Linked DNA regions of Homo sapiens: region 1 is linked to region 2. Evidence: promoter capture Hi-C in 16 types of primary human blood cells and fetal thymus (Javierre and others, 2016). All regions are on one chromosome and are shown on one strand. Each heading gives the region's core, a stretch centred on a gene start or on the middle of the fragment in contact. The rest is flanking DNA. Distances are from core to core; before and after follow the strand shown. Region 1 overlaps YY1 (YY1 transcription factor). Region 2 holds the start of SLC25A47 (solute carrier family 25 member 47).

The links. The method cuts DNA at HindIII sites, captures the fragments that hold promoters and counts their contacts. A CHiCAGO score of 5 or more calls a contact.
Region 1: a fragment that was not itself captured here is called in contact with the fragment with the promoter of SLC25A47 in region 2 in 1 of 17 cell types (monocytes); the score reaches 5.9 in monocytes.

Annotation. Positions count from the first base shown.
Region 1 is chr14:100,281,095-100,286,719 of GRCh38, forward strand. YY1 (YY1 transcription factor) reads left to right here. Exons shown (of 5, transcript NM_003403.5): 5 at 1-1,694. It also overlaps a transcript of SLC25A29 not described here. Among named protein-coding and RNA genes, the nearest start is that of MIR6764, 6.6 kb to the left of the region's middle. RefSeq lists silencers at 4,085-4,194, 4,225-4,984. The HindIII fragment of the contact is 687 bases long and covers 1,689-2,375 here.
Region 2 is chr14:100,320,503-100,326,720 of GRCh38, forward strand. SLC25A47 (solute carrier family 25 member 47) reads left to right here and starts at 2,837. Exons shown (of 6, transcript NM_207117.4): 1 at 2,837-2,940; 2 at 5,286-5,329; 3 at 5,655-5,726. The coding sequence starts at 2,913. The HindIII fragment of the contact is 12,472 bases long and covers 1,375-6,218 here.

The sequences.
Region 1 (5,625 bases), core at 782-3,281, 40 kb before region 2:
TGACAATTCTACCCACCTCCCCCCACCCCCGACTATAGGCAAAGAGAGTTGATCACTTCCAGGGTCTCTGACTTCTGTGACCTGGAAATCAGCCTGGCTTGGGAAATTCATGTTGTTGATCTTTAATTATTTAATTATTCTTTAATAATCCTTCTATTTTCTTGACATCTGACCCCCAGCAAGAGTAAGGATCCCAGAGGTCAAAACAGTGGTGAGAGCCAAGCTGCTCACAGACACCCACTTGATGCCACAGCCATGCCATGAGGCTTCCTCCCAGCTGCTCTGCTGGCTTGCTGAAGCCAGCTCTGAGTCACAGGGTTGCCTTGGACCCTCGGCTGTAGGGGGCACCTGTCTGGCTCCGGGCCCTTTGTCCTGGATACACTGACAGTAATGTGAGCGCAGCACTTCAGAGTTCAGGCCCAGCAGGTCCTGGCAAGTGCATTCCACCCGAACTTTTAACCCAAGCGGTGGGGAAGGAAGCCAAAACTCCAAGCTGCACTTTCTTGGGGTTCTGGCCATGCACTTCTTAGCCTTCTCTCTGACTTTACAGGACAAAAGGTACCCCACGCCTTCAGAATCATGCTTACCTGCACGGCAGCATCTGACTGGATGGCTGGCTAGGTCTCATCCACCCCAAATTACTGACCCTTGATTTATGTTGTTACTGCTCAGGTTATGCTCAGATGCCCTGGTTGCCTGAAGATGGTTTAAGTGCAGGCCCTTCAGACAAGTCACGTCAGGCAAGAGAGGGCTGGCCTCTGACCCACAAGAGGGCAGATTTGTGGCCAAGAGGCTTCCTGGCATCCACCCCCAGGCCCAAGGGATCAGTGTGGTGCCAGAGAGGATCTTTAAGCTGGGACTGTACTGAGGCTTGATGGGAAGTATGGGCAGCATGTACTTGACACGTTATCACCCAGTCCCCTTGTAAAATCTGGAATGGAGCGTTTAAGCTGAGCGTTAGCATCAGGTCAGCAGGCAAAGCAAACCTCCCACAAACTGGGTGCCGTAAGGTGGGAGGTGACACATGGAGAGCTTCGTCCTGGCCGAGCAGGCACCCAGCCCCATGTCCCCCGCCAGCATTCTGGATGTCAGAGGAGGGTGCGTGTGATGGCGTCACATTCATCTGAAGCACACTGATTGATTTTCCACAAGGTGGCAAGTTTGATCAAATTGACCGCTTTTCATGAGACACCCAGATGCTGTAAAAAAAAAAAACAGCACTGGGATGTGTTGAGGAGGGGGCAGTTTGCTGTGCTCTGTTCTGTCTGCTGCTCTCTCTGGGGGCCGCACAATGTCCGCACACATCACGGAGGGGAGAAAGGCATCAGTACCAAACGGAACAACCTCTTTTTTCTACATTGTCCATACCCGGACATGTGAGGCTCTATTATCAACAGGTGGTGAGAAAAATTATGTTTTTATTCGCTTTCTGGTAACTTCTGTAGGCCCTGGCTCAAGGACTTAGCATTTCGTCTCATGTACATCTTTTTCTTAAGTGTTCTTTGCCATTTCTGGAATTGTCCTTGGTTTTTCCTTAGCTCATAGGTCATAGATGCAGAAATATAGTATTTAAGGCATCCGCATCCAGCATCAGATGGCTTTGCATCCAGAAAAACATTGATAACTCAGTTTGAAGCACCAAGCATGTGTAATATGGCTCTATACAATATAATAAATGCATAATGTTAAGCTTTTTAATGCCTGTGGTTCTTGTTTGTTCCTCAGTCCTCTAAGCCACTTCTTTAGTGTTTCACTGCACATGAAACCAGGCCATGAGCCCTTCCTGGTCTAAGAGTTGCCTAAACTGCCCGGGGCAGTTCTTGCGGCTTGCTTTCTCACACACAGGACTGGGAACTCCCAGGATTTGGTCTCACACCAGCAAGAAATGCTTCTGTAACCTTTCAGCTCCAAGGTGGGCTCAGGAGCAAGAGGGCGTTTTAAAGAGAGCCTCACCCACTGTTCAGAAAGCACAGCCCAGTGAAATGCCCACGCAGCCGGACCTATGAGCCCATGTCAGCCCTGGAAGCTCCGGAGCTAACTGGGATGGACTCGGAAGAACTTGACCAAATACACTGAGAGCTACTTAGGATTTAGCCAAAAGCAAAATGCAGAGCAGAGCTTCCTCCCTCTGGTTGGGGCCTTGGTGTCTGATGTTCTGCAGAGCAAGGTTCAGAGTGAGGCGTGAAGTTCATTATTACTTGAATACATGTGACTTTCCCTTTTTGCTAGTGACAGAAGGGGCTGCTGACAGAATGCTACTGAGGTGGCAAGTCGCAGGCCTGTGCAAGCCCAGAACTGCTGAGTGAAGGCCCTAAGTAGGGCTGAGCTGAGCAAGACGGTGGAAAACCTGTAGATTTTACATGGGAAGGAACTAAAGCTTTGGAATTGCTTTTTTTTTTTTTTTTTTTAGATGGAGTATTGCTGTGTCTCCCAGGCTGGAGTGCAGTGGCGCGCAATCTCAGCTCACTGCAACCTCTGCCTCCCGGGTTCAAGCGGTTCTCCTGCCTCAGCTTCCTGAATAGCAGGAGGTTGTGTGTGCCACCATGCCCGGCTAATTTTGTATTTTTAGTAGAGATGGGGGTTTCACTATGTTGGCCAGGCTGGTGTTAAACTTCTGACCTCACAATCCACCCGCCTCGGCCTCCCAAAGTGCTGGGATTTCAGGCGTGAACCACCGTGCCTGGCCTGGAATTGCTTTCTTTAGAAACCCCTAGATACAGATGAAACCAGTATCTCTCCTTTATACTTGCCGGTGTCTCTGCCTGGCTATAATTTTTTATTTTATTTATTTATTTATTTTTTGGTAAGAGACAGGGTCTTGCTATCACCTAGGCCGGAGTGCAGTGGCACGACCATAGCTCACTGCTGCCTTGAATTCCTGGACTCCAGTGGTCCTCCTGCCTTGGCCTCCCGAGTAGCTACGATTACCGTGAGCCACCATGCGCAGCCCATAACATTTGTTGAGAACACATATGTACCCAGTGGCCTCCTCCAAACCACCCTTTGATGAATTAGCTAGCAATATCACCATGCTGTAAGAGAGGAACAGGCTCAGATTTATTTGCAAAGTCCAGGCAGCCAGAATTCAAAGCCCAAGCCTGCCTGGCTTCCAAGGTACTCTGCTTGCCACTGGCTCCTTAGCTTGAATTCTCCTCCAGTCCCCTTTCAAAAAAGCCCTGGCCCTTGTTTATGGAGCAGTGCATCGGCCTCCCTGGTGTGCGGCCCTTTCTGTTCTGGCGCAGTGGTGCCTCCTGGCCTTGGAAGGGTCCTCAGGGCTCCCCGACTGCCCGCCATTGTGACCGTTCCCCTCGGTCCTTGCTGACCTCCCCACACGGCCTTTCTGCTAACAGGGTCTCAGCACGTGATTTGAACTGCAGCGGTTCCCTACTTCCTACCGAAAAATCCAGTCCCGCCGACCCTCAGAGCCCAGTCCTGGCTTTATCTCATTTTTCAGCCTTTCCTAATGGATCACCTCTTGTCCTGTCCCTCCCCTCCCTCTTGGAGTTTTCGTTTCCAAAGCTTACCTCTCCACCTCCAGGGGCCCTGATTCGATCAATGCAATTATGTGCCAGGCCCTGTTTTAGGCAGGAATGGCATTGCCCTACTGGCACTGGCATGACATCTGGAGGAAGGAGGATAAGGCTGTGATAAATAGGGGCTAGGGGCCGGACGCGGTGGCTCATGCCTGTAATCCCAGCACTTCTGGAGGCCGAGGCGGGCAGATCACCTGAGGTCGGGAGTTTGAGACGAGCCTGACCAAAATGGAGAAACCTCCTCCCTACTAAAAATACAAAATTAGCCGGGCGTGGTGGCGCATGCCTCTAATCCCACCTACTCGGGAGGCTGAGGCAGGAGAATCGCTTGGACCTGGGAGGTGGAGGTTGCTGTGAGCCAAGATCGCGCCACTGCACTCTAGCCTGGCGACAGAGCGAGACTCCGTCTAAAAAAGCGGGGGGGGGCGGGGTAGCTAGGGAGGGAGAGGAGGCAAGGAGGCAGGACGGGGTCTGAGCACGCCCCTCAGGTGTTTGCATGGCTTCTTCTTGGCCTGCCACGTGCGTCTGTACCGGACCCTAGGAATATCCCGGGAGCTGGTGGCCAGCCCTAGCCCCTGCCCGCCTGGCCTTTGGCCAGCACTTAGCGCGGGCAGCCCTGCCCGCCCCCAGACCCTTCTGGGGACTTGGGCCGCGCCTTTGTCCCAGCCCTTCCCTGCCACCCTGCAGTGCTCCAGGGCCTGTCCCCCACGCTGCTCTGGCGGGCGGCCCCGGGGGCTTCTAGACCTGCGCCTGGGCCCCCACCCGCAGGGTGCGCCGCCGCCGCCGGCCGCAGGAGGGCACTGTGCCAGCGGGCCCCGGGGCTGGGCCGCGTCCGCTGTGGGGAGGGGCTGCGCGTGCGCAGCGCGGAGCGGCCCGGACCTCGCGGGGACCCGAGGCGCGGTGGGGGCTGTCCAGAATCCCTGAGTGTGGGGTCCCCGCGAGCCGCCGCCGCTTACGAGCGTCCCCCGCGCGGAGTGAGCCCAGGGCCACGGGGGCGCGGAGATTCAGAGCCCGAGAAACGCGGAAGGAGGCTGCGTGCACCCCACCTGCCCGAGGCCTCGGGCGGAGGAGACTCCCGCCGCCAGGGCCACAGGGACACGGGGCAGGGCGGTGCGGCGGCGACGCCCGAGGAGGGAGGGGCCACATACCAGGGGGCCCCAGCTAAGCAAGGCCCTGGGACGCCCCCCCTTCCCCCCGGTGGAGCAGCGCCCCCTGGAGGGCGGGGTGGGAGAGGCTGCGGTCCTGGGATTAGGGGGCGGGCCCGGGAAGCGGGGAGACAGGGCCTTGGGGTGCCGGCCCAAAGGGACGTCCTGGAGCCCTCCAAGCTGGGGATGCTTTTCCTCTCCCCACGGAGAGCTCCACCACGGGCGTGGCGGGGGCTCCTACCATCACCCTGCCTGTAGGTTCTGGAGCCACTCCGGCCGCCCCAGCCCCTCTCCAGCCCATCACCGCTTCACCCTCTGCCCCCAAGCGTGTTCTGGCCTCACAGTGTACATTCCGTCTTCCCTGGCCCGTCTCTGTATTGCCTGGCAAAACCCAACCTGGCCCTGTACTCAGCAGCCTCTGCTCTCACCCATTCATTCACTCATTCATTCAGCATGCTGACTTTGCACCCCTGGCCCTCATGGAGCTAAGGTAGAGGTTGGGGAGATAAACAAGAAACCGGCCAGTACTGTCACAACACCAAACAGAGCCCACCATGTTCCCCTGTGTCTGCTCTTTGTCCTGTGTCCTCACCATCCCCAAGGATATTCAAGCCAGATTTGAACTTACTCATTCACCCAAACTTTGTGGGACATCATTACAGCTGGCGTGGTGTTGGCTGGCCTGGCAGAGCATGGCTGGGGGGGGGGGTGTTGCTTGCAGAGGGGCGCTGGTGGGGGCGTCTGGCATTCCCCACGATCCTGGGGGAGGTCAAGTCGGAGGAGAGCAAGGCTGAGCAAGGAGCCCCTGGGGCACAGGCCCATTCCCCTCAGCCTCTGCCCTATCTCTGCTGTGCCCTGATCAAGGTGGACACTGGCCCCACCGCCTTTCCCAGTTCCCTGGGAAGTGGCCTCTGGACCCAGCAATGCATCTGCCTCTCCGTGGGTAG
Region 2 (6,218 bases), core at 1,587-4,086:
GTGCCATGGGTGTGGAGACAAACCCAGCACCACCCTGCCTGCCTGAAGCCCACAGCTGAGTGGGGAAATGTTTAGACCTGCACGAAGCAGCCTAAATGGTGGGGTGGCCTGTTTTCTATTTCTGCCTCAGAGAAGAGGGTCAAGTTAGGGCATGTTTGTTCAGGAGACAAAGGGCAGGTAAAACTTGGCTGCGATGACTGAGAACATGCTTGTCTCAAATGTCACCTTCTGGGGCCTCCCTAACACCTCCTGCAAGTCTCCCTCTCCCCGACACCTTATTTCTCTCCTGGCACTTGCCGCCATTGCGGGTACTCTGTATTTTGGCTATTCATCTGTTGGCTGGCTGTCCTCCTCCCTGAACATAATTATGGTCCACCAGGGCAAGGGCTTTTTTTTTTTGGGACACAGAGTCTCACTCTGTCTCCCAGGCTGGAGTGCAGTGGCCCAATCTCGGCTCACTGCAACCTCAGCCTCCCGGGTTCAAGCAATTCTCCTGCCTCAGCCTCCCAAGTAGCTGAGACTACAGGTGTCCACCACCACGCCTGGCTAATTTTTGTATTTTTAGTAGAGACGGGGTTTCACCATGTTGGCCAGGCTGGTCTTGAACTCCTGACCTTGTGATCTGCCCGTCTCAGCCTCCCAAAGTGCCAGGATTATGGGCGTGAGCCACCGTGCCCAGCCCAGGGCAAGGGCTTTTATCCGTTGTGTTTACTGATGTGTCCCCGTGCCTAAAACTCGACAGGCAGCCTTGGTTTCATGAGTAGAGGGCATGGGCGGGGCGGGCTGCGGTCCACGGGATGATGACGCGGCTGAGGCCGTGCAGATGGACAGTGGTGAAGGGAGCTGAACGTGAATTTAAGAGGTTGACACACAGGACTGGGGACTCTGGATGTGGGGTGGAGAGAGAGAGGTGTCCAGGGCAATTCCTGGGCTTCTGGCTCAGGTGCTATGGGTGGGTGGCACTTGCTGCATTGGATGCTCTACAGGAAACATGGATCTGAATGGTCCCTGTTCTTTCAGTTAGACACAGTGCTTCAAACTCCCTCAGCACCCAAGGTACTGGCTTCTTGAGTGCAGCATCAGCAATCAAACCCAAGTCTCAGCTGTATTTGCCCTGCCCAGAACAGGCCAGCCACCTCCTTCCTTCCAGACTCTATGCTTCTGTTAATGCAGCATTAGCATTTAGCTGGCCACTCTCACAGGGACACGCCCGGACTTTGCCCTGCGTGGTCGCAGATATGAGGCAGGTACTCTCTTCATTTCATGGATGCAGAAGCTGAGGCACAGAGTGGTCAAGGGGCTGGCCCACGGTCTCAGCTGTGAGTGGCAGAGCTGGGCTTTAAAGGCAGGCAGCCAGCTTCTAACCAGATGCTAAGCTTCATCCCCTTGAGGGCCAGGACTAGCATTGGGACTGGCCTTGGATGGGCCACTTCCCGCCCTTTGCCCTCTGCCGTGGCAGCTGGCACTGCTCATCCTGTGTCTCCCACTTGCCTATAAATAGCCGGGCTGGCAGGGGGGCTGTCCCTCCATCAGCTCTCAGCCTGCTCAAGGCCAGCCTGCAGGTCCAGCCATTAGAGGACAGGAAAACAGGTAGACAAAGAGCCTCCTGGCCTTGCCACCTGTCCCGAGGGCTGCCCAGATGGGCTGCCTGGGCCTCATGCATCAACACCTGCCCCTCCCCTATCCTGCTGGCATTCCAGTCTGTGGGGCACTCACTTAGATTCTGTTGCTCAGCAGCTGTGTGGCCGAGGTACCTGCACAGCCTCCCTGAGCCTTGGTGTCTCACGTGGAGATCTCACAAGGATGCAGTGCAGGTCACATGGGGCATGCACTGAGTCCCCTTGAGAGCCCTCTGGGGCCTCCCCAGGCGGGCCTGGATATCCCAGAGGGTGGGTTGTATGAGAGCATCTGGGGATCACATCCAGCCCTGCCGCCCTCGTGGCCTTGGACAAGCCCCCTTTCTGGGCCTCAATGGCCCCATCTGTGAAATGGGGAGCACTAACGCTGCGCTGTCTCCCTCCTGGGGCGGTGAGGAGGATCCTAGAGCCTGAGAGTGAGGGGAGCTTGGTGAACTGTAAGGTGGGGTGCACGGGCAAGGAGGTCCCTGTTTTTACAGTGCCCAGCAGACAGAAGTAGCGTCTTAGTGGAGAGGTTTCCCCTTCAGGAGGGCCCCAGCCGCTGGTTCAGAGGCTGAATCGGCAGCCTCTGTCCCTGGTTCATGTGGGCAGGGGGACTTGGTGGAGGCAGCCTTGGCCTTCGCCTCTGGGTCCAGGGAGACACATTCCCATGGAGCAGAGAGCAGGGAACCGGGGCAGCGGGAAGGGTGAGAGCAGATGGTGGGTGCTGTTCCTGGGTTCAGGCCTGTCCTTGCCACCCCCTCCCTCCCTGCCAACTGGAGCTCCTTGAGGACAGGGACTGGCTCTCATTTGCCTGGGTGTAGCATCAGCAAAGTAAGTGTTTTTTGAGTGAGTAAGAGAGGGAGCTTTGCAGGTTTCCCAGGCAGGGGTCCTGAGCAAATCCAGGGGAGTCGGGAAAGCCCAGGGGACACAGTGAAGGCCTGGGCTTGGACCTGGAGGGCGAGAGCTGTCACAGCCCCATCTCTGGACCTTCCCAGGAGGTGTTTGGATGTGATGGGGCAGTGCCCCTGCTCTCTGGTGCCTGTCACCTCCCGTGCTCTCTCCTGTGTTTTCCTGACACCTGGGTCCCGAGGGCACTGGGACAAGGGTCCCGGGGGCAGGGAGGGAGTCCAGCTGTGTGCCGCGTGGCCTCAGCAGGCTCTGCTTCCGGTCCCCTCCCCTGCCGCAGGTATTTAAGGTCTGAGAGGGGCCAGCTGGGAGCTGTTGAGGCCACCCTGGTGGCACCAAAGCCCTCTCAGGCAGGCAGACCCAGGGCCTCCCCGCCACACCTTGTTCATGGATTTTGTCGCTGGAGCCATCGGAGGTAACAGACAGGATGGTGGGCTGTGCAGACACTGCTGCTCCTGGGGGTAGCAGGAGGAACTGAGGTCCAGGAAGGTGCTGGGCAGCAGGGTGGGCTTTGAGGAGCCCCTCACCCCCCAGGATCTGCCAGGAGCAGAGAGCAGGTTCCTGGGAGGCTAAGGCTGGGTGAGGGGTGCTGCAGGGCCTGGGGGGCTGCACTGGCCTGGGAGGCTCAGACAGGAGGCTGAGGGCAGGCTGGGGATGGGGCTGTGGTCTAGGCATGGGGGCCGCTCGGGAGGCAGAGTCAGGGAGGCTGGGAGTCCTTGGTGTGGGGAGGGGTGATTGAGTCACTGGAAGGGAAAGAAGACCCCAGGAGAGGATCGAGAGGGTGGGGAGATGGGTAGGGAAGATGGGCCTGGTCCTGCAGCAGGGACTGGAAGGGGCGGGCAGAGGACGGTAAGGGGCCTGGCGAGGTGGCTCCACCTGCCCTGCTGGGTGTGTGCACCTGGCTAGGCCTCCAGAGCCTGCTTCTCAGGCCAGACTCTGCTGGAGAAACCGTTCTCCCTCCTGGGGAAGGGCTCCTGGTGAAAGACTGATTCAGGGAGATAACCAGGCCCTGGGACACGGGCTCAGCTCCATCCCGTGGGCTGTGGGGGCTGTTCTGAGTGGGCACTCCTGCCCTTGCTGGTCTTGTGAAACATCGGTGGGTGGCGTCAGTACTTCTGGAAACAGCATGGGGGTTGGGAGAGCGGCCCAGCTCTGGCCCTGGGAGAAGGCAGAGTACCTGCCCCATTAACAGGCTTTTTCTTTTTTTTTTCCCTTGAGATGGAGTCTTGTTCTGTCGCCTAGGCTGAAATGCACTGGCGTGATCTTGGCTCACTGCAACCTCTGCCTCCTGGGTTCAAGTGATTCTCCTGCCTCAGCCGCCCAAGTAGCTGGGATTACAGACATGCACCACAATGTCTGGCTAATTTTTGGGTTTTTAGTAGAGGCAGGGTTTTACCATGTTGGTCAGGCTGGTCTCAAACTCCTGACCTCAAGCGATCCGCACGCCTCAGCCTCCCAAAGTGCTGGGATTACAGGCGTGAGCCACTGCGCCCGGCCTCCATTAGCAGCCTTTCTCAGCCCCAGCTAGGTGCCAGCCTGGGGCCAGCCGCTCCCTTCCTCAGGGAAGCTACTGGACTTGCCTGACATCACACAGCTGGAAAGGGCTCCTGAGTCTGGCATCTTTCCTCCGGAGCCATGAGGAGGCCTAGGTAAAGGGCTCTCACTCTGTGCCTGGCCCTGGGTCATGGGGTGTCAGCCCTCGGCCGTGTCCTTGGAGAACTCCAGTTCTGGAGGTGGCGGTGGCATACAACAGCAAGGCCATATGACAAGGGCTCTGCTCAACATGTTCCAGGCACAGAGGCAGCCCAGAGTACAGAGGCCAGAGAGGGCTCCAGAGAGGAGGTAGTGTCGTGGCAGGGCTTTGATGGATGAGTAGGAGCCTGGTGAGGTGTGTGAGGTGTATGGGAGGGTTAAGAAGGGTCGTTCTCTCCAAGCCACTTGGTCTTTTGCCTTACATTTATTCACTTCATTCTTTCATCCCACATATTTACTGAGTCCTGGGCTACAGTGAATAGGGTACAGTCCCCATGTGCCTATTTTCTTCCATTGGCCTTTACCACCTCCCCTCAGGGGAGAGAATGGTCCTCCCAGGGACCACCCTGTTTCCCCTCTGACTTCCCTGTGGCAGTGCTGGGGCTTGGATGTTGAGGCCTGGCACCCGAGGCCTCTCTGCAAGGTGTGGACTCCCGGCCCTCTCTCTTCCACACACGCTTGTGGTTCCAGGCAGTCCTGGCTCTTCACGAACCCCGGTGTGGGCTTCGGCTTCCCTCCTCCTGGCCTTTGCCCAGGCTGTGCCTCCCCCTCCTTCCACCCACGCAGCCAAAACACAGTTACCGCCTGGCTCACAGGCAAACCCTCCATGGGCTGACGGCTTGAGGGCAAGGTCTGCCTGGCTCAGAGACAGGGCCCAGCTAGGGTAGGATCAAACGTTCTCTCAGAGCATGACGCCCGTGGGGAGGCCGGGGCATGTCGGCATGTCTTTGGCCCAAGGCAGCGAGGACGAGGCAGTCCCGGGCCAGGACTCAGGGAAGGGGAACTTGCTTGCAAAGGGTAGAAGACACTCGGAGGCTCAATTTCCTCATCTCTAAAACGGGGGTGCCCTCAGGATTGATGAGACCTGGTGCAGACCAGAAGGGCCAAATGTGGGTCTGCCCTTGGGGGAGCCCAGTCAGCGTGCGCTCTGCTTCTGCTTCCCTGCAATGGGGTTGAACTGCTCGCCGGCCCCACTCTCCTCACCGTGGGCCTCTTCTTTCCTTGCAGGCGTCTGCGGTGTTGCTGTGGGCTACCCCCTGGACACGGTGAAGGTGCGGCAATAGCCAGCCCCCCAACCATCCTAAGGCCCCTGCACCTGTCCACGGCCAGGAGACTTTTCTAGAATGCTAAACAGACCCACCCCTTTCCTACCCAAATGCCTTCAATGGCTCCCCATAGCCCCTGGGACTATGTCAGTCCCACTTTCTCACCCCTGTGCCCCAGGTTTCTCGTCTAACACAAGGCTCCCTGTCCCTGCTGTGCCACCGTCCAGCATGGCTGGGACAATCAAGAGTGTGACTCTGCCCCTTCCCCAGGGCCTGCTGGCCTTGCCCTAGGCCTGGAGCCGCTCGTGCCTGAAGCCCACTTCTCCTGCAGGTCAGGATCCAGACGGAGCCAAAGTACACAGGCATCTGGCACTGCGTCCGGGATACGTATCACCGAGAGCGCGTAGGTCTGGGGCCAGGGGCTGGGTAGGGAGACAGGGAGGGGATGCTGGGCCTGCCTCCGCTGCCCAGCAGGTGATGCCAGGCTCCCCGCTGGGTCTCAGCTCTCTCACCTTCCACATGGGAATAGTTCTGCCAATCTCATGGGTTCCTCTGAGGTCTGGAGCCAGGACATCTGGCAGCTAGAGGGGCCTCAGAAGGAGGTTCCCACCTCCAGCAGAGGGTCTAGAGGTAGCGTTCAGGTCTTTGAAAGTCGGAGGAGGGACCCATGCACTGCATTTCTGTCTCCTCCAGGCCAGGCACCCCTTGAAGGCAGTGTTGGGTGGAGTCTTTAGGGTCTAGCTCAGAGACCTGTCCGGAGCAGTACTTGGCGACATTCTCCTACGTGGACTTGGGGCTTGGTGCAGGCCAGGGGCTAGTTTGTGAAAGCAGCAGTGGCAGAACATGCTGTTACTAGTTCATTGTCAGGCCAGGAGCGGTGGCTTACGCCTGTAAT